Linked DNA regions of Homo sapiens: all the other regions are linked to region 1. Evidence: promoter capture Hi-C in 16 types of primary human blood cells and fetal thymus (Javierre and others, 2016). All regions are on one chromosome and are shown on one strand. Each heading gives the region's core, a stretch centred on a gene start or on the middle of the fragment in contact. The rest is flanking DNA. Distances are from core to core; before and after follow the strand shown. Region 1 holds the start of PAIP2 (poly(A) binding protein interacting protein 2). Region 2 holds the start of REEP2 (receptor accessory protein 2). Region 3 holds the start of EGR1 (early growth response 1). Region 4 overlaps ETF1 (eukaryotic translation termination factor 1). Region 5 has its middle 15 kb from the start of HSPA9.

Region 1 (4,002 bases), core at 818-3,317:
CACGGTGAAACCCTGTCTCTACTAAAAATACAAAAAATTAGCCGGCGTGGTGGCAAGCGCCTGTAGTCCCAGCTACTAGGGAGGCGGAGGCAGGAGAATCGCTTGAACCCGGGGAGGCGGAGGTTGCAGTGAGCCAATTGCGCCACTGCACTCCAGCACTCCAGCCTGGCGACAGAGTGAGACTCCATCTCAAAAAAAAAAAAAAAAAAAAACTTGCTCTGCCCATTTCACGTTTCATGATAATGAATGACAATAGGATGTAAATTACAAGAAAATGTTTTAAAAGCACAAAAGGTTATTAGATTACAAGGGGGCAGAGGTCTTGCCTTCCACATTCTTTAATCTCCCACAGTATCAACCAAATTGCTGTGCTAAGTGTTCAAGTTTTTCACTAAAACTGGAGCATCACACTCTAGAGTCATAAAGTGATAAACCTGAATAAAGTGCAGAGTGCTTATTTAAGGAAAAGCCTGCTATAAACTCATTCTGACCAAAAGAGGGTGAAATTACCTACCTCAATTTGAGTTCCTAAGGAGCAACGTGCACAGCCTTGAATCATTAGAGGAAATCTCCATTCCCTAACCTCCATCCCTTAAAGAAACACAAGTGGGTTCTATAGTTCTTGTCAAGTTACCTATCCTGTGATTTTGTGTGTGTGTGAAAAAGTTTTATTCAAGTTCACAACTGACAAGTAGTATAAACAGACTAATTTTCCCCAAATATCCTGTCTTTCACTAACTGGAAACAGAATCACAAAAGCAAATAGTGGAGTCTCATTAAAAATTATTGTAGAGAACTTTTACTTATTGCAAACACAACCTACGCCAGAAGAAATTTCAAAAGCGACTTAATGAAAATATAAACCAACACCTGATCTAACTGTGCTAATGAAATCTGTGAAAAAACAATGCCACCACGTTTCAACATTAGCCAGCACACCCAACATGAACATCTACTTTCCGTTGAAATAAACGTCAAAGGCTGTCAGCTGCTACACCTTCCAAGGCAAATTGGAAGCCAAATTCTTTCTAGAGTTTGGGGTTTTTATGAGTTGATACGGGTGCCAAATCAGGGAAAAAAGAAACAAAAGGAAGCAGGTAAGACCCCTTTTAGGAGTCCCTAAAAAATATCACTGCTGGCTGCTGCAACAAATGTTTTGAAGACCTAAGTTCACCACAAGCCTTATTTATTTCTGGTGGCGATGGTGGGGAAGGAGGAGAGTAAGCACAGAAAATTATTAAAAGGTAAGAGGACCTTAAAGTTCATCTAACTCAACGCCCTCCTAGGGTAAGGGTTCCCAGTACCCCAAAGGTTCTTTTTTCCAGGGCATGAGCTGCAATACAACCAAAAATAAGGGGTAGCGATGGCGAAGAAACGGGAGAAAGACGATCTTCTGATCAGGCCCGTCGACGGTTGCAGCGTTCCCCCAAGACGCCAAGAGCCCGCCAGTCCCTCCGCCCCTCTCTCCCCAAACCCCAGCCTCGGCTGAGGCGCGCACGCGCAGCAAGTAGGGGCTGCGCGTGGCGACGCGCAGGCGTAAAGTGGGTAGAAACAATAAGCTTTGTTGCCGAGGCGGTGGGAGGGGGGCAGGGGAAAGGGTACCCGGCGGAGGGATAAAGGACCGGGAGAATGAGGAACAGGAGAAAGTGCTATCCCGGCAACCCTCGCGCCACTGAGGACCCGGATAGAGAGCTGCGAGATCCAAATCATTAATAATGACAATGAAAAAAAAGCGACGGCCATGTCTCGGAGAAGACAGAGACGAAGTCGGCCCAAGCTCATCCCTCAGACTTGGTGGAAAGAGGCAATGAACAACGGAGGCCGCAATGGACTCGGTGGCCAACCACCCAGGGAACCCTTTAGGCCCCTCTGCCGTCGCCGACTTGCTGTCCCTCGACCTCCGCACCCCTGTCGCCACTCTGCCCGAGAGGACCCCTCACCCAATGCACAGCAGCGGGGACGGCAGCCAACGAATCCTGTCGGCCTCCGCGGATCTCCACAGGCAGCGCCGCTCCCCCGCTCGACGTGCGCTTCGCCCGCCGCCTCCCTTCTCCAGTCCAAACAAACACCCCAGCCCGGAAGTGACTTCACTTCCGTCGCCGCCAACCCCGCCCTCTTGTTCTGTCAGCTCTGCCCTCCGAAGCCACTAGAGAGCGCGCGCGAGAACGCGCGACCCCGAAGTCTGTCTCCAAGGCTGCACACGTGTGCACGCGCAGCAGCCTTTCCAGCGCGCCCCTACGGCCGGCTGCCGGGTGTAGCAGGAACGCTGTCGCACGTTCTCTCTGGAAGGCAGGAATGGGGGCGTACCACTGTTCCCACACCCGCCCATCTTCCGAGAATGATGATATGCAATGAGTGAGGCAGCTGGGGACTGAAGAGCACCCTGACAAGATACACAGGCGTGGACTTTCACAGACATCACACACCCCCCCAAAAACGTAATATTTAGGTAATGACATAGCACACACATACCCATACACACCCCAAGAATGATACACAATGTCACACAAACAGCGACATGCACCGAGTCACGTCAAGATCCTGACACAGAAAAATAATAAACTAAGGGAAATCACAGAGGCGTACTAAATGATATGCAAACATCCGCACTCAGACATGTGCAGGCACAAAAACACACTTTTTGAAGCTGGATGCAAACGCAAAATACAAATACATGTGCAACTTCTTTGTGGCTAAAGGAGGAAATGCCCTGTCCACACAGGATAGAAAAGTGTGACCTCCGGGTTCAAGAATTTTGTAGTCCGTGATCCTGGGTGCACTGGCCCCATAGTTATTCTTACCCATGCTTCCTTCCTGTCATCGTTGACAAGCCCCAAGATATATTTCTAGTGACACTAAGCAATGTAAAGAAGAGAGTATGTTTTTGTTTTTTTGTTTTGTTTTGTTTTTTTGAGGCGGAGTCTGGCTCTCTTGCCCAGGCTGGAGTGCAGTGGCGCCATCTCGGCTCACTGCAACCTCCGCCTCCCGGGTTCAAGAGATTCTCCTGCCACAGCCTCCCAAGTAGCTGGGACTACAGGCGCACGCCAGCACACCCGGCCAATTTTTGTACTTTTAGTAGAGATAGGGGTTTCACCGTGTTGGCCAGGATGGTCTCGATCTCCTGACCTCGTGATCCACCCGCCTCCGCCTCTCAAAGTGCTAGGATTACAGGTGTGAGCCACCGCACCCGGCCGAGAGTATGTGTTTTACAAATCTGGATGTTCAAATGTGTAGATACTATCTTTGAAAAAGGGACACAAACTAATTTCTTCCCTTTGGAGAGGGCAAATGACCGACTAGGAAATGGGTGCAAATAACTATCCTTTTCTCCTGAAAAATTTGAATCTTTTAAAAACTATATGCTTGTAGTATTTACTAAGACAAAAAATTCCCTCCATGGGAAGGCTTGAATTTAGAAACCGGGTTGTTCCTCTTCAGAGCTATTTCATTCACTGAATACTCTTCTGGGCCAGTCCAAAGCCCCAAAGAAATGAATGCAGATGGTTCTGCCCTAGCTCCTGGGTCAACCACCTTGGCAGCACTTACAGATCTATATTCTAAACTGTGAAGATAAGCTATCAATCTGAGGCTGAAGGAAGTCTGAACATAACAAAATAGGTATTTATATAGTCTGAGATGACTCAGACTCTCTTTTTAAGACACAGTCTTCCATCACCCAGGCTGGAGTGCAGTGGCATGATCACGGTTCACTACAGCCGCAACCTCCCTGGCTCAAGCAATCCTCAAACCTCAGCTTGCAAAGTAGCTGAGACCACAGGTGTGTACCACCATGCCTGGCTAATTTTTGAATTTTTTGTAGAAATGAGGTTTTGCCATATTGCCCAGGCTGGTCTTGAACTCCTGGGCTCAAATGATCTGCCCGCTTCAGCTTCCCAAGGTGCTGGGATTACAGCCGTGAGCCACAGGGCCTGGCCTAACCCAGACTCTCTTAAAAGGTAAGCATGAGGCCAGGTGCGGTGGCTCACACCTGTAATCCCAGCA
Region 2 (4,002 bases), core at 365-2,864, 900 kb after region 1:
CTTGACCTCATGCCCATTCACACCCATCTGCCCTTACCCTCCACCTCCCTCAGAGCCAGGCTCTGCGAGGGAACCTGACACCACCTAACAGGGCACCCTACCTGGCAGGCAGAGGTACCACTGTGGCCCTGGGGCCCTAGGGAACAGAGGGCACAGGGGCAGGAGGCCCTGAGAGAGGCAAAGAGGCTTATTCCCCCATGTAAACACCACAGGGACAGGGCTCAGGGGAGGGCCCCGCTGGTGATCCAAGTACAGAATGCAGACAAGACACAGGCCGGGAAAGAAGAGGACCGATGCCCTTTGGGGCTTGCCCAGGCAAGAGAGAAGCAGCCACCCTGAAGGCCACATGGAGGCGTGAGGCCCCTCCATTCCCCCTGGGATGGGTGGGGGAAGAGAAGGAGTCTAGAGTAAACCAGGACAGAAGCACTTGGCCGGCCCGGCTGTACCGAATGGGAAGAAGGGAGCAGGGTGGGGCTGCCGGTGTCAGTCCCCAACGGTGGAGGCCGAGGGGCAGTGTCCTCATTAGGGCAGGGGATAGCTCCGAGAACCACGAGGAGCCCCTGTCAGGCTCAGCCCCTTGACAATGTGTGGCTGTCGCCTGTTTCCACATGGACAGGAGGGATACTTCCAAACCGGCTGGTGCAAGTGGAGTGCGGAGCAGAATCCTCAAGGACAAAGTCTGGGCTCGTGGGGAATGGTGTGTGTTCCCTCCTGGGGCCCGGGGAGGTGCCAGAGACACAGCTCCACAGTGTGGCTGGCAGCCTGGAATGAAGGCCACGGAGCGTCCTCCCCCAGCGGGGTCCACAATCCCAGGCTGAGCACACACATCCCCTCTCCCAGTTACCTCTCACACTTTGTCCTCCGAGCATTTCTGCTTCCCGATACCCAGACTTCCTCCCTAGGGGGCCTAAGGGCATATGCCCTCGTCCCCAGTCTCCTGACAGTGAGTGGAAGGGAGAGACCAAGGGGCCTGGTGATGGCTCTGAGCTGCGGAATGATGATGAGGCCCTGCCTTGCTCCACTCTCTTCCATCACCCTGTTACCTCCCCCAGAGGGACAGGGCCCGGGTCTGAGGATCTCCTCCAGCCCAGACCTGCTAGGTGGGGGAGGGGACGCGCCTGCCTCCCCTTTTAAATCAAGCCGTGCTGCTCAGCCTCTAGGATGGGCGCAGGAGCAAGGACGGTAGAAATAAAAGAGGTTATTAATAAAGAATGTGGGTGAGGTCCCTGGGAAGCCAGGCCTGCCACGCTCCCCTAATATTCCCCCCTCCAGTCCTGGGTGCCACATCTCCATGTCTCTGGGGGCCCCAAATAAGGACGCAGCGCCTTTAGGTGACTCTGCTGCACGAAGCTTCGGAGAAGTCCACCCGGGCTTTAACACCCCCGCCCTCCATCACAGCCCGCATCACCCCCCGCCGCCGCCGCACTCACACCACCAGGCGAGAGATGATCCAGGACACCATGGCGGGGCCGGGCGCGGCGCGGGGCGGGGACCCGGCCCGGCCGAGGATGCAGCTGCCTGAGGCCGAGCGGCGGCGGCGGCGGCAGCAGGAGCCGCAGTAGCAGCAGCAGCCGCTGCAGCAGCCGCCGCGGGGGCAGCGGAGCGCCCAGCGCCGCCGTTAAAGGGGAGGTCCCTGCCGCAGCGGCGGGCCGTGGGCGGTGGCGGCTCTTAAAGGGGAGGCCGGGAGGCCGCCGCGGCGGCGGCGGCGCGCCCCCGCCCCGGCACCTGCTGTGGCCGGGCATGCGCCTCCGACCCTCAGTGCCCTGCCTTCCTCGAATCGCTTGTTCATCTTTCTTGGGTTTCAAGCCCTAGGCTGTTGTCGTGGAGGTCTCCATGGTTACATCCTGAAATCGACCCCTGCCCACCTCCTGCCCTGCCCACACCAGGCGCTTACTGTGTGCCAGCCCCTGTGCTAAGAGCTTCACTGCGTTGCCAGTGAATCCTCTTGACCACCCTATAAGGCAGGCGCTATAAAAGCCCTCATTTTGAAGATAAGGGAATGAGAAGCTTAAGGCTCAATAATCTGTTGAGAGTCACAAAGCCACCAAGTCATGCTGCTAAGATGACCCCAGGAAGCCTACTTTAAACAGGTTACATCCCCCAACTGCTGACTAGCAAACTCTCCTCATTACAGGCCCTGAAGACATCCACCTGAGCTCCTGAGTCACAGGTACAGCCGCACCTGTCCACCCCACTCCTTCTCACCCCGTTGAAAGAGGATCTCCCCTGACCAGATGATGTTTTGTTTTTTTGAGACAGGTCCTCACTCTGTCGCTCAGGCTGGAGTGCAGTGGCACAATCTCAGCACACCTCCTGGGCTTGAATGATCCTCCCGCCTCAGCCTCCCGAGTAGCTGGGACTACAGGCCCAAAACACCACCAGCTAATTCCTGTTTTTTTGTTTTTTGTTTTTTTTTGCCAAGATGGGGTTTTGCAATATTGCCCAGGCTGATCTCCAACTCCTGAGCTCAAGCGATCCACCCGCCTCAGCCTCCCAAAGTGCTGGGATCACTGGTGTGAGCCACCGGGCTGCTGGTCTGCTTTTTTAGGTTGTCAGCTCCTAAGCTTTGCAGCGGAACAGAGCTTTATGCTCTCAATGTGGTTACTGACAACAAAGGGTCAACCTTCTTTTCAAACAGAGGGGCTGCGAGAGGGTCCTGGGGCTCCAGTTCCACCCCCATCAGCAAGCACTAGTGGCAGTGAATGTCCTGATTCTAAAGACATTTATATCCAGAATGTAGGCTAGCCTGCCTCCTGATCTTCAGGAAAGCAACCAACCTCCAACCATCCACCAACACCCCCAGCCCTATTGCTCTCCTTTCCTGTCCCATTTTAGAGCTTCTGCATTCCTCTACCCTTTATGTTGAGTTGTAATCCTTCGGGTGACCACAGCATCAACCTGTGCCCATCTGGGCTGAAAGGACACATTCAGAACTGTGTATTTCAAAGAGTCATGGTCTTATTCAAGCTCAGTATCCCTGAACAACACAATGGTCTATTTCTAACCTGGTAAATTATATTTCCAGGTTCAAACACTTTGGAAGATGTTTCCCAAAACGTTCCAGAAAAGCAGCCTCTGATAACCCCTCTTGCTATTCTTTACAACTTCCTCTCCAGAAAACATCTCCTAATTGGAATGCAGTCTGTTATCACCCCACAATGAAACACTTTAATTACTGCTTGATAAATCCCACATGAGTGTCTCCCACCATCTCTAAGGTGGATCTATGGCCACACGTTTCATGTAGGCAGCCAGGCTGCCTGCTTAAGAATCCCACCACAGACTGTCCAACTTTGCTGAGGCCACACACCATGACCCTTCCCCCCAGACTCTGCCACAGGAAGGGAGGACCCCAACTTTCCCACTCCATTCACAAAGCATAAAGTATGGGGAAACATGTCTCTCTTTCTACCCTCTAATTCATGTGGCCCCTTCCCCTTACCCCCAATTCCCCAAACCATACTGACCTCACCCTGGCACTTTCCTTTTTTCTAACATGGCACAGTCTCAACAAGCAAAGAAAAATATCTGGGTGTAGCACAGTCATGAAGACCTGGAAATGAATCCCCCACCTCCAACCCAACTCCCAATCTGATGTTGATTTTAGAAGGGTTGGTACACGAATAATTTAGTCCACTCCAAACAGATTTGTTAGATTTTTAATAAGAACATGGAAATCCCAATCAGCCCTTCAACAAAATTAAAATACAGAAAGTGAAATTAAAAGTATTCTACATTAAATGACTTTTATTTAAAAAAAAAAAAAAAAGTAACTGTGAACATATAAACAGCCTGCAGGGCACTACAGTACAGCTGGAGAGATATACATTTTCCAATGTACCTATGGGCCAATGAATCCCACCATTTTCAAATAAATCCTTAATCAGACTCCACTCAGTTGGAAAGTTTTGCTGAAAATATTTCTGGATAAAAAACAAAAAACCTCATGTTGGAAATCAACTGTCCTTCCCATTTGGAAACATTAAGAGGAGTCCCCAGGGA
Region 3 (4,002 bases), core at 677-3,176, 880 kb after region 1:
TGGGTTTGATGAGCTGGGACTGGTAGCTGGTATTGAGGGCCTTCAGGTCCTGGGAGCCCGACTGAGTGGCAAAGGCCTTAATAGTAGACAGAGGGGTTAGCGAAGGCTGCTGGGTGCGGCTCTCCAGGCCCTGGAAGGGCTTCTGGTCTGGGGTGCCCAGGCCCAGATCCCCCTGCTGCTGTGGAAACAGGTAGTCGGGGATCATGGGAACCTGGAAGCCACCCTTGGCGGCAGGGTAGGCAGGAGGCGGGTACTGGAGCGCTGTCCCTGCCGAGCCCGGGAAGGCCTGGCTTTGTGGCTCAGGGAAAATGTCAGTGTTCGGCGTGGGGAAGGTGGGTGCCGCTGAGTAAATGGGACTGCTGTCGTTGGATGGCACTGCGCAGCTCAGGGGTGGGCTCTGGGAGGCGGAGGCGGAGGAGGCCGCTGGAGATGGTGCTGAGGACGAGGAGGCCGGTGGGTTGGTCATGCTCACTAGGCCACTGACCAAGCTGAAGAGGGGCTCGGGCCACAAGGTGTTGCCACTGTTGGGTGCAGGCTCCAGGGAAAAGCGGCCAGTATAGGTGATGGGGGGCAGTCGAGTGGTTTGGCTGGGGTAACTGGTCTCCACCAGCACCTTCTCGTTGTTCAGAGAGATGTCAGGAAAAGACTCTGGCAGGAGAGAGAGAAGCGGGAGGCCTGGTTACTGGAAAGCAATCACTGGAGGACGAGGACGACCCGAGCTGCCAGGCAAGAGACCGGGCCGGCTACCATTGACTCCCGAGGTAGTTAATAATTGATAGCAGCACATTGCAATGTTCCTGGACCCGCACCAGTGGCAGAGCCCATTTCAACAACAGCTGACGCAAATACGGAGAATCCCCCTCCACTGCAGCTCGCAGCGCTCCGCAGCGGCGGCTGTGCGGGCGAGGGATTCCCGCCAGCACCCCCATGGCCGCGGCTAGTGCGCGCCCCCAAACCCGGGCTGCCGGGACATCCACGGCCAAGGATCACGGTCCTTCCTTGGGGACAGGCGGCAAGCAAGGCAAGGCAAGTCTTACTGGAGGTGGGGGGCGCAGCCCCGCTCATCAAAACAAGCCCTCCCCCTCCACCCACCCACGCAGCTCCAGAGCTCTCCATCCAAAACAAAAGCTCGGTCCTCTGCGCTCCGCTAGGGATGAGGGCAGGGGGTGGGCTGTGTGGGGTTCCTTGGCATCCCTCTAACACATGACTCTGGGGATGCGAGGAATGAAAGGGAAACCCGGCTCTCATTCTAAGATCCAGGAGCACTCCTGCGGTGAAGGACAGGACGCCAGGATGGTGGCGAAAGGGTTCCCCCTCGGCGTAGGCCACTGCTTACCTGCGGTCAGGTGCTCGTAGGGCTGCTCGCCCGTGTCCGCCTGAGGGTTGAAGGTGCTGCTGCTGCTGCTGCTGTTGCTGCCGCCCCCGCCGCCTCCACCGCCCCCGCTGCTGCTGCTGCTGCTGTTGCTGCCGCTGCCCTCTGGGGCCCCGGCGGCGCCGAGGAACTGGGGAGCCCCGTTGCTCAGCAGCATCATCTCCTCCAGCTTAGGGTAGTTGTCCATGGTGGGCGAGTGAGGAAAGGATCCGAACGGGTCAGAGATCTGCAGCGGGGACATCAGCTGCATCTCGGCCTTGGCCGCGGCCATCCTGGACGAGCAGGCTGGAGAGCTGGTGTCGGGGCGGGGGGGTGCAGCCCGGGGCTGGAGCTGCAGGGGACACAGTTGCGGGGGCCTGGCCGGGTTACATGCGGGGCGCGGGGAACACTGAGAAGCGTGCAGGCGGCGACCCCGACTCGCCCTGGGCGCGGGCGGGCGTGGACGCGCCGCGGCTGCGGAGGCTGGGGCAGGGGCCGGTCCTGCGGCGGCGGAAGCTGGCTGCGGCGGCGGATGGCGGCGGCGGCTCCCCAAGTTCTGCGCGCTGGGATCTCTCGCGACTCCCCGGATCCGCCTCTATTTGAAGGGTCTGGAACGGCACGGGTCCGCCTCCGTCGTGACGTACATGGCCATATATGGGAAGCAGGAAGCCCTAATATGGCAGGACCGGCCGGGAGGACCCGGAGTGACGTGAAGCCCCCCATCCGACAGCGCCCGGCACCTCCATCCTGCACCCTAGGGCCCGCGCCCGCGCCCGCATCCCAGGCGCCCAGGCTTCGGGGAAGCCTAGAGCTCTAGCCGCCGCCGGGGCCTCCGGGACCCGCGCAGCTCCGGAGTTCCCGCGTTGCCCCTCCCTCCGCCTTCTTCCCTCCTCCCAGAGCCGGAAGCGGCCGGGCCATATCGGGCCACTCCAAATAAGGTGCTGCCCAAATAAGGGTTGTTCCGGCGGGGGATCCTTCCTGCTCCTTATATGGCATTTCCGGGTCGCAGCTGGTTGCTCCCTCGCTCCCTCCCTCCTCCCTGGTTCCAAGCCGGGAGCCCGAGCGCTCGCGGGATCCGGGGACGCCCAGGCGGGGAGGGCTCGTGGCGTGTGGCGCTGGGCGCGCGGCTGCTCAGGCGGCTCCTAGGCGTGAACTAGGCTGGGGAAGCCCAGACCCAGAGCGGGGGCGAGGGCGAGTCGGGCCGGGGTTCTATCGCTGTCATCCAGGGCCCGCCCGCCCACCTCAGGGACCGTGAGAGCGAACCGGGAGTGCGGGGGAGGAGCGGCTGGGCCCGCCTGGGCAGGGGCCGCCCAGGAGAGGCGGGGCCTTGACCCCGGGCCTCGATCTATGGCACGGTGTCTTTCCGGGTGTCGCTGGGAAATTGAGGATAGGAAGTCACGGCCACTTGGTTCTTGGGACACTGTATAGCAGTGAGCTGCCTTGCCTCTGCCACCTGTCGGTGGGATGGGGCTGCTGGTGCCTGGGGTCCCCTGTGCTCCCCCGGAACCGAAAGGCTGTTCCCTAGTCCCCGCCGGCAAAGAGCCCACCTTTGGGGGACCGAAGTGGGGAAGCTGATTGCCCCAAGAGAGGCCTGATTCTTGTTCTCACCAGGAGATAATGGTCCTTGTGGTGAGGGGTCACTTTCCCCCCTTTATCCAGTCCAGGTGGAGGGCCGGCCCACACTGCGGGAATCCGAAAGAGGGGCTTCCCTATGGGCTGTCTGGGGACCCCGGGCTGGGCGCGAAGAGAGGACCGGCTTGGCGGCTCGGTGCTGCCCCCTGGAGGTTCCCTCTCCACTCCCAGCCCCGGACTCCGGCCGCGCGGGCTCTTCCGCCGCCTCCTCGCTCCTCCTCCCGGATGCGGCGCTGGGCGCGGAGCCAGGCCGGGGGAGCCTTCGACGCAGTGAGCACGAACTGAGCAGGCGCTGCAGCCCGGGCTCCCCCTGCAGTCCCTGGGGAGCCGTCACTGCCGAGGCGCCCAGACTCCGGGATAACACTCCTCACCCCGAGCCTGGCCAAGGCGAGGGGGAGAAGGAAGCAGGGGGTGGGTGGTGGCGAGGGAGAACGATTCCCGCAGGTCTCCCTGGGGCCGAACGCGAACAGGGAAGCCCTCCCCGCCCCCACGACGCAGTCAGTTGCTCACCCCAAAGGGAACAGGGATTCCGGGAAGGGAAGGCTCCTCCTGCTCTAGCTCTGAATCCAGAGGAGGTGCTGTTTTTTCTGGATTTAAAAAGAAAGCAGAAAGAGAATGTGGGGAAGGAGGGTGCTTGACGACACCGAGAGGGAAGGGAGGAGGTGAGGGCCTCTGTGAACCCCAACAGCCTCTGGAGGTCGGGGTCAGGGGGATTAGGTGGGGGAGGGTGTAACTTTCTTGGACTTAATCCCTCTGTGGCTGTCCCCCCTCCAAACATGTTTTCTTATAAAAACCAACTTAATGAACCAGGACTCCCTCGTCTCGGAGCCTGCCGTCTCAAGTCCGCTGGGGAGGTGGGGGGCTCACTCCCACTGTCTACCGAGTTGTCCATTGGGGCAGGAGTGATGCGCCTCTCAGAGGACTCCTGCCGCAAGGGCAGGAAGGCCAGGCTGTTGCAGCGCAGATGGCCTTGTGTCTGAATGTCCATTTTGCCACTCCCTGGTAGGGTACCTTAGCCA
Region 4 (4,002 bases), core at 542-3,041, 810 kb after region 1:
ATCTCGTAGAATCCTCATGATCTTGTGAAGTAAGTAGAAACAGACCCACAGGGATTTGTGTGGTTTGCCTTCGGTCACACGGCCATTAAGTGATAGAGCTGGACGTGAGCCTGAATCTGGGCTCCTCCTATTCTGTTCCCATATTAACCCCATATCAAAAAGACCATCTTAGTTTAAAAGTTTAAACTTAGTTTTGCAAATTTGGGAGAAGAAAAATGGAAAACACACAGTGAATAAAACAATGACAGTTTTGGAAATGGAGTAGAAATTGAAGAGGAACTGATTGATTTTCAGGTGGTGATCCATGTAATACTGCTGGCTTAGTGACTTTCCCAGAAATGATCTGGCTGAGATTTATTTATTTATTTATTTTATTTTATTTTTTTGAGGCGGAGTCTCGCTCTGTCGCCCAAGTTGGAGTGCAGTGGCTCGATCTCGGCTCACTGCAAGCTCCGCCTCCCGGTTCACACCATTCTCCTGCCTCAGCCTCCCAGGTAGCTGGGACTATAGGCGCCCGCCACCACGCCCGGCTAATTTTTTTGCATTTTTAGTAGAGATGGGGTTTCACCCTGTTAGCCAGGGTGATCTCAATCTCCTGACCTCGTGATCCGCCCACCTTGGCCTCCCAAAGTGCTGGGATTACAGGTGTGAACCACTGCACCTGGCCTCTGGCTGAGATTTAAATTGAGCTTTGTGAGGCAGGCACAGATGGGAGCTTGAAAAGGGAAGTGGTGAAAAATTTGGCCATCCATAGCCTAGGCACAACCCAGCCATCAAACCCTGGGATGAAAGCTTCTTGGGGAGCATGTACTGTACATCCCGGTTAGGGAGTATAGTAAGCAGTGTCTAAAACGTTCCTGGTCCTAACCTGAAAGTAGTTAACGTGATTTACAAGTGATGACTTGGATGGCAGAGTACTTGAGGGGGAGTGAGTGTTCGGGCTGGTAAAGTTGAGTATCTCTGAGCTGTCACAATTCATTATGGTTGTATTATAGCTAGGTTGTCTTAGGTTTTGGGGGTTTTTTGATTTTTGTTTTTGTGCTGCTATAACAGAATACCACAGATTGGTGTTCTGGTAAGGGCCTGCTCTCTGCTTTTAAGATGGCACCTTGAACGCTGCATCCTTTGTTGGGGAGGAACACTGTTCCTCTCATGGCAAGAGAACAAAAGAGAGATGGCCCACTACTTATAAGCACCTTATTTTATCTTTTTTGTGTGCGCGTGTGACTGTAGCTCTCAGGTCTTATAAGCACCTTATTTTAAATAGCAGCATGAATCTATTCATGAGGGCAGAGCCCTCATAACCTAAACACATTCCATATGCCCCACCTTTCAATACTATTGCAGTGGGGATTAAGTTTCCAACACATGAATTTGGGGGGACACCTTCAAACCATAGCATAGGGTAAATGCAGCAAGCAACTGCTCTGGGTTCTTCTTCTTTGGGTGGAGGTGAGGTTGTGGAGGCTTGTTACCTTCAGCAGACCTAGAGATGACCCTGTGAAGAAAGCAAGCCAGATGCAGTGATTCTCAACCCTAGTTCTGCATTAGAATCTTGCGTATTTGAGGCCGGGCACAGTCGCTCACACCTGTAATCCCAATTCTTTGGGAGGCCAAGGCAGACAGATCACTTGAGGTCAGGAGTTCGAGACCAGCCTGGCCAACATGGTGAAACCCTGCCTCTACTAAAAATAGCCAGGCATTGTGGCGCGTGCCTGTAACCCTAGCTACTTGGGAGGCTGAGGCAGGAGAATTGCTTGAACTGGGGAGGCAGAGGTTGCAAAGATCAGAGATGGCGCCACTGCACTCCAGCCTAGGAGACAAGAGTGAGACTCTGTCTCAAAGAAAAGAATCAGCTGGGTGCGGTGGCTAAAGCCTGTAATCCCAACACTTTGGGAGACTGAGGTGGGTGGATAATTTGAGATCAGGGGTTCGAGACCAGCCTGGCCAACATGGCAAAACCCCATCACTACTAAAAATACAACAATTAGCTGGGCGTGGTAGTGGGCGCCTGTATCCCAGCTACTTGGGAGGCTGAGGCAGAAGAATCACTTGAATCCAGCAGGCAGAAGCTGCAGTGAGCCGAGATCACACCACTGCACTGTAGCCTGGGTGGCAGAGCGAGACTCTGTCTCAGAGAAAAAAAAAATCTTTCATATTTCAAAATTGAGACTGTCTCAACCAAAATCATCACCACCCTCACTCTCCCTATTCAGAAACTATTGAGTCAGGATGGAGGAAGAAGGGATCTTTTGTGTCTGAGCATGTATTCTTTTATTTTGCTTCTTTAGAAAGCTCTAAAAGGATTCAGGGCTGGGAGGTATGCAAACTGAAGTGTTCTTGAGCATTGTTGATGATGGTGAACATTGATTAAGATCCTTGTGGGTCAGGCGGGCACGGTCGCTTGCGCCTATAACCTTAGCTGCTCAGTGAGTCTGAGGTGGGAGGAGTGTTTGGGCCCAAGAGTTCGTGACCAGCCTGGGCAGCCTTGTGAGATCCTATCTCGAAAATAAAAAGAAAAATTAGCTGAGCGTGGTGGTGCGTACCTGTAGTCCCAGGCTAGGGTGGGAGGATCACTTGAACCCAGGAGTTTCCAGGTTACAGTGAGCTGTGATTGTGCCACTGCACTCCAGTCTGGGTGACAGAGCAAGACCCCATCTCTAAAAAAATTATCTTTCTACTTGAGTTTTGTTTGGGATTTATTTGGTTTAGTTCTGTTACAATTCCTTTTTTTCACCTGTTTGATTTTTCAGACGTTAACCCTCTGGGCGAAGCATTGATGAAAGCTTTGATAAGCCAAAGTGCCCCTAAAACCAATGAGAACAAGAAGAGAATCTGAGTGCAGAGGCCCCTGGGAGCTTTGAGGGATACATTGCTGTATGTTGTCTCTTGTTTTGCCCAGTTTTTACAACCTGCATGTGACACATTGCTGTACCCCATGATTCACTAGTTCTTTGATTTCGGAAGAGGAGTATAGGGATAGTAGAAAAACGAAGGAAAACTATTACAGTTAAAGAAGGTTGTAGTTTGCCTGTGTAGCCAGCATCTCCTTAGTGAGAGCTTTATTTTTCATTTTCCCCTGAAGGGTGTTCACTTTAAAAGACATGGAAGTATTCAGCTTCCTTAATTTTATTTTGGGTGTTTACACAAACTGGTCTAACAACTTTGATTGACTTGCAGGAGTGAGGGTAAATGAATGTTTATCTTGTTTGGAAACTTTACTGGAAAAACGTTAATCTGCTTGTTTTTTTTGTTTGTTTGTTTGTTTGGTTTTGGTTTTTGTTGGTTTTGTTTTTGTTTTTTGAGATGGAGTCTCGCTCTGTCACCCAGGCTGTAGTGCAATGGCGGGATCTTGGCTCACTGCAACCTCTGCCTCCCAGGCTCAAGCCGATTCTCCTGCTGGGATTACAAGCATGCACTACCACGCCCAGCTAGTTTTTGTATTTTTAGTAGAGATGGGTTTCCTCATGTTGGCCAGGCTGGTCTCAAACTCCTGACCACAGGTGATCCACCTGTCTCGGCTTCCCAAAGTCCTGGGATTACAGACATGAGCCACCATGCCTGGCCCAGTCTGCTTGTATTAAACCTAACATACAAAACATCAGAAGTTATTAAAGTACCCTTTAAATTTTTAAAGTGAAAGCCATCCATTTAATAATCTGCATTTCCCCTCCCTAGTCAGGTGTCTTATTTTAAAGGTAAATTCAGAAACTTAATGTTTCCCCCATAGAAGGTAGGGGGAGGGGGCATGCAGGGAAACTAGTGAAAGGTAATTTTTTGCACCTAATTCAAAAGGAATAAGAAGCCAAGACCAAGTTTCAAGTTTTGTTTCATTTATCAACTTTGTAGAAATCTACCAAACAAAAAACAATTCTTAGGCAAGCTACACTTTTGAGCCATTTTTTAAAGTGGAATCCTATAACAAGATTACATTCTTAGGTGTATTTGCTCCTTGGTCCTCTGGAATGTTACATGGATATGGAATGTAAGGTTGCCCAACTG
Region 5 (4,002 bases), core at 382-2,881, 750 kb after region 1:
GGGCGACAGAGTGAGACTCCATCTCAAAAAACAAAAAAAAGTATTATAGGTGTAGACAGTGCTGTGGAAGATAATATGCAGGACTGGCCTAGGCCTTAGGAATCTAATCTATTCTGGGGGCTGGAGAAGCTTGCCTATACAAGTGACATTTATGTTGGGACCTGAAGGCTAAATAGGGTTAGACAACTGGCTGGTGGGGAGAAAGTGATCTAGGGAGAAGTGAGGGCCTATGGAAGTGCAGAAGCAACACTTCAAGGACCCGAAAGAAGGCCCGTGTTGCTGCAGTGAATCTATCAAGGAAGGGTTGCCGATATAAGGAGGTTGAAGGGACCAGCAGGAAGCTGGGAGATTTTTTTCTTTTTTAAGAGAATGGATCTCACTATGTCACCCAGGCTGGAGTGTGGTGGCTATTCACAGGCACACCATCATTGCACACTACAGCCTTGAACTCCTGGGCTCCAGTGATCCTCTTCTCAGCACTACAGGTGTGCACCACCACACCCAACTCTGGGTTTTTTTTTGTTTTTTTTTTTTTGAGACAGAGTTTCACTCTTGTCACCCAGGCTGGAGTGCAATGGCACCATCTCGGCTCACTGCAACCTCCGCCTCCCAGGTTTAAGCGATTCTCCTACCTCAGCCTCCCACGTAGCTGAGATTACAGGCGAGTGCCACCGCGCCCGGCTAATTTTTGTATTTTTAGTAGAGATGGGGTTTTACCATGTTGGCCAGGCTCGAACTCCTGACCTCAGGTGATCTGCCCTCCTCAGCCTCCTGAAGTGCTGGGATTACAGGCATGAGCCACCGCTCCCGGCCTTTGGGGGATTTTAAATGTTGATTAAGAACAAGCAAGTGGGCCAGGAGCAGTGGCTCATGCCTGTAATCTCAGCACTTTGGGAGGCTGAGGTGGGCAGAACACCTGAGGTCAGGAATTCGAGACCAGCCTGGCCAACATGGCGAAACCCTGTCTCTACTAAAAATACAAAAATTAGATGGGCGTGGTGGCCAGCTCCTGTAGTCCCAGCTACTCTGGAGGCTGAGACAGGAGAATTGCTTGAACCCGGGAAGCAGAGGTTGCAGCAAGCCAAGATCGCACCACTGCACTCCAGCATGGGCCACAGAGTGAGACTCCGTCTCCAAAAAAAACCAAGCAAGTGGAAAGTATAGAATCAAAGACTTGCAGGATGGGCAGTCACAGGATTTAAAGGTCATCTAGTCCCACCACCCAGATGATACTGGTATCTCCTCTGCTCATTTTTTATCACCAGATGAATCCAAATGGAGGCCAGAGAGGGGCTGGCATGAGGTCACAGCAGGCTGAGGTAAGGGAGTATCCATGAAGCCCCGAAGGCTGAGGCAGGAGGGTTCCGGGTTCCATTTCTCTGACCCAAGTATGAGTTGGAGCTGGTCTCTGGTCAAACTGCCTATTTGTGTGAGGACACTCATAGGACCAGCCAAGGAAAAGCAGATAACAACCATTCGTGTTTATTAACCATAGCACATTGGAAGGCTAATTGCTCTGAGCAGGTGTCGGGGAGGTTGATTTGTTCAAGAGGGCCTGGCTAGTTTGTATTCGTGACAGAGAAATCTATTGTTGAGAGCCGGGCAAGACAGCCTGTGAAGAAGCCAAAGAAGGGCAAAGCCAGCCTGACCAGCACCCAGAGGAGCTCTGGCCCATGGACTCGATCAAGGAAATTTGTTCATCATTATCAGGGCAAATGCTTCCTCCTGTGCTGGCAGCAGGACAAACAGGCTACTCCTTGGTGATACAAACCAGTGAAATATTCATGATTATATGACAATAATGAACCTGGCCCCTTCTTCCCTTCATCTTCCTGATTCTCACTGTGTGGCAGGGCTGTGTGTGCTCACAAACAGTCCTGTGTCCTCGTCATTATCATAATTAATCAATATTTAATAAGTGCCCCCCACACTATGAAAAGCCCTGTGGTGACTCAGGATACAAGAAAGTGGTAGTCTCTGCCCCGAGAAGGTTCACAAATCTAAATGAGGAAAGTAGAAACATGCACCAAAAGGTAAACCATAACCAATACATGGCTGCAGTGACATGGGTTTGGGATTTAAAAGGCCATCAAAAGGCCAGGTGCAGTGGCCCACACCTATAATCCCAGCACTTTGGCAGGCCAAGGCAGGAGGATCACTTGAGCCCAGGAGTTGGAGACCAGCCTGGGTGACAGACAGAGTGAGTCCCTGTCTCTACAAAAAAAAAAAAAAAAAAGAATTTTCTGAGACAGGGCCTCACTCTGTCGCCAAGGCTGGAGTGTAGTGGTGCAATCTCTGCTCACTGCAGCCTCCGCCTCCCAGGTTCAAGCGATTCCCCTGCCTCAGCCTCCCAAGTAGCTGGCACTACAGGCATGGCGCTGTCACATCCAGCTTTTTTTTTTTTTTTTTTTTTTTGTATTTTTAGTAGAGACGGGGTTTCGCCATGTTGGCCAGGCTGGTCTCAAACTCCTGGCCTCAAGTGATCTGCCTGCCTCCGCCTCCCAAAGTGCTGGGATTACAGGTGTGAACCACCGCACCCAGCCTACAAAAAGTTTTTTTAATTAGCCAACCATTGTAGTACATGCCTGTAATCCTAACTACTTGGCAGGCTGAGGCAGGGGGATCACCTGAGCCCAGGAGGTTAAGGCTGCAGTGAACTGTGATCATGCTACCGCACTCCAGCCTGGGTGATAGAGTGAGACACTGTCTCTCAAAAATAAATAAAAATAAAAGTAAAAAATAAAAAGACCATCAAAGACCACTGTAGAAGAACAAGACAGAGCCTAGAACTTAAGGAAATTGGCCTCAGAGCAGCATGATGCAGGAAGGTACTTCAAGCAGACTAGAAAGAGATGCTTTGGGGTCAGGAATGAGAATGTTTGTAGGTCCTGGAACAAGGGAACCCAGGCCTTGATCCCTGGCATGACAGCACCTAAGAAGGGAGCAAGACCCTAGAGAGGCCTGGCCTCATGGTATATCTAGGAGATAGGACCCCAGGCCAGAGGATGAGGCAAGGATGAAGAGCAGGCTGTCAGTACCTGGGCCTCAAGTGATGGTACAAATGATGGGACAACTCAAAGCTCCCTCCAATCTCATCCAAAATATAAGATCTTGGAACCATAACGCAAGCTTGAAGACAAGAAATAAGCTAGATTAACTTTCCCAACAGTCAGATGGGATCAGAGCATGTAATTGGAGTTTACCTTTATTTAAGAATATAAATAAATGTGATACTTCCTACACACATGAATTTATAAACTGAGAGTCATACCTGCTGCAGTTGCTACAGTTCAAGTGTGAAAGGATGAGAACTAGATTAGAATGATTTCAGCGAAAAGACAAAGACATAAAAGTCCTAGTGATATACAGGAATAAAGAACAGAACTAGATTTGCCCAGAATCTACAGCAAATCCCAGGACACATTGAGAATGCACAAAGTTTCTCCTTGTTTCGGTTGCTCTCTGCCTGCAGGCATCCCTACAGGGGACTCAAGTCAATGCTTTATGAGTTAGTCTTGGCATCCATAAGTTATGATGAAATGCAACTTAAAAAAAGCTTTGTTCTCTCCCAAGGCTGCATGTTACTGCTCAGGTGGACAGGGTAATAAAAAAAAAAAAAGAAGAAAATTTAGTCACTGAGTTTCTACTCTGTGTCAGAAATGATGAGGACTAGCAATACCAAGATTACTAAAACTCTCTTCCTGCCCTTAATATGCTCATTATCTATTCAGAGGAATGGCCATTCCAGCAAATAATTAAATCCTCTGTGATATGTTGTGATGGAACTGTGGATAAGTTCTCTAGAAGCACAGAGGATCAAGTGACAAGCTCAAGAAGCCAGAGAAGGCTTTTACAGAGAAGGTGAGATTTAAGTGGTGGGCTTTACAGGATGAATAGGAGCTCACCATTTGTGTTTGTTTTGTTTTGTTTTGTTTTGTTTTGTTTTGTTTTGTTTTGTTTTGAGGAAGGGTCTCACTCTGTTGCCAAGGCTGCAGTGGTATG

The links. The method cuts DNA at HindIII sites, captures the fragments that hold promoters and counts their contacts. A CHiCAGO score of 5 or more calls a contact.
Region 2: the fragment with the promoter of REEP2 here is called in contact with the fragment with the promoter of PAIP2 in region 1 in 1 of 17 cell types (fetal thymus); the score reaches 6.4 in fetal thymus.
Region 3: a contact is called between the fragment with the promoter of EGR1 here and the fragment with the promoter of PAIP2 in region 1, in 3 of 17 cell types (monocytes, fetal thymus and erythroblasts). The highest score is 10.3, in monocytes.
Region 4: a contact is called between a fragment that was not itself captured here and the fragment with the promoter of PAIP2 in region 1, in 1 of 17 cell types (monocytes). The highest score is 8.4, in monocytes.
Region 5: a fragment that was not itself captured here is called in contact with the fragment with the promoter of PAIP2 in region 1 in 1 of 17 cell types (erythroblasts); the score reaches 5.5 in erythroblasts.

The regions. Positions count from the first base shown.
Region 1 is chr5:139,339,919-139,343,920 of GRCh38, reverse strand. PAIP2 (poly(A) binding protein interacting protein 2) reads right to left here and starts at 2,067. Exons shown (of 4, transcript NM_016480.5): 1 at 1,941-2,067. The HindIII fragment of the contact is 3,993 bases long and covers 1,562-4,002 here.
Region 2 is chr5:138,436,669-138,440,670 of GRCh38, reverse strand. REEP2 (receptor accessory protein 2) reads right to left here and starts at 1,614. Exons shown (of 8, transcript NM_001271803.2): 1 at 1,431-1,614. The coding sequence starts at 1,462. KDM3B (lysine demethylase 3B) reads right to left here. Exons shown (of 24, transcript NM_016604.4): 24 at 3,644-4,002. RefSeq lists an enhancer at 448-981 and a silencer at 1,367-1,786. The HindIII fragment of the contact is 657 bases long and covers 1,353-2,009 here.
Region 3 is chr5:138,463,403-138,467,404 of GRCh38, reverse strand. It overlaps EGR1 (early growth response 1), which reads right to left and starts at 1,926. Exons shown (of 2, transcript NM_001964.3): 1 at 1,337-1,926; 2 at 1-648. The coding sequence starts at 1,643. RefSeq lists silencers at 1,673-1,882, 1,973-2,322, 2,333-2,732, 3,053-3,322 and enhancers at 1,188-2,027, 2,028-2,868, 1,941-3,140. The HindIII fragment of the contact is 6,642 bases long and covers 1-4,002 here.
Region 4 is chr5:138,528,430-138,532,431 of GRCh38, reverse strand. The region is part of intron 2 of ETF1 (eukaryotic translation termination factor 1); the gene reads left to right. Among named protein-coding and RNA genes, the nearest start is that of ETF1, 13 kb to the left of the region's middle. The HindIII fragment of the contact is 1,994 bases long and covers 795-2,788 here.
Region 5 is chr5:138,588,085-138,592,086 of GRCh38, reverse strand. No RefSeq gene overlaps it. Among named protein-coding and RNA genes, the nearest start is that of HSPA9, 15 kb to the right of the region's middle. The HindIII fragment of the contact is 3,000 bases long and covers 132-3,131 here.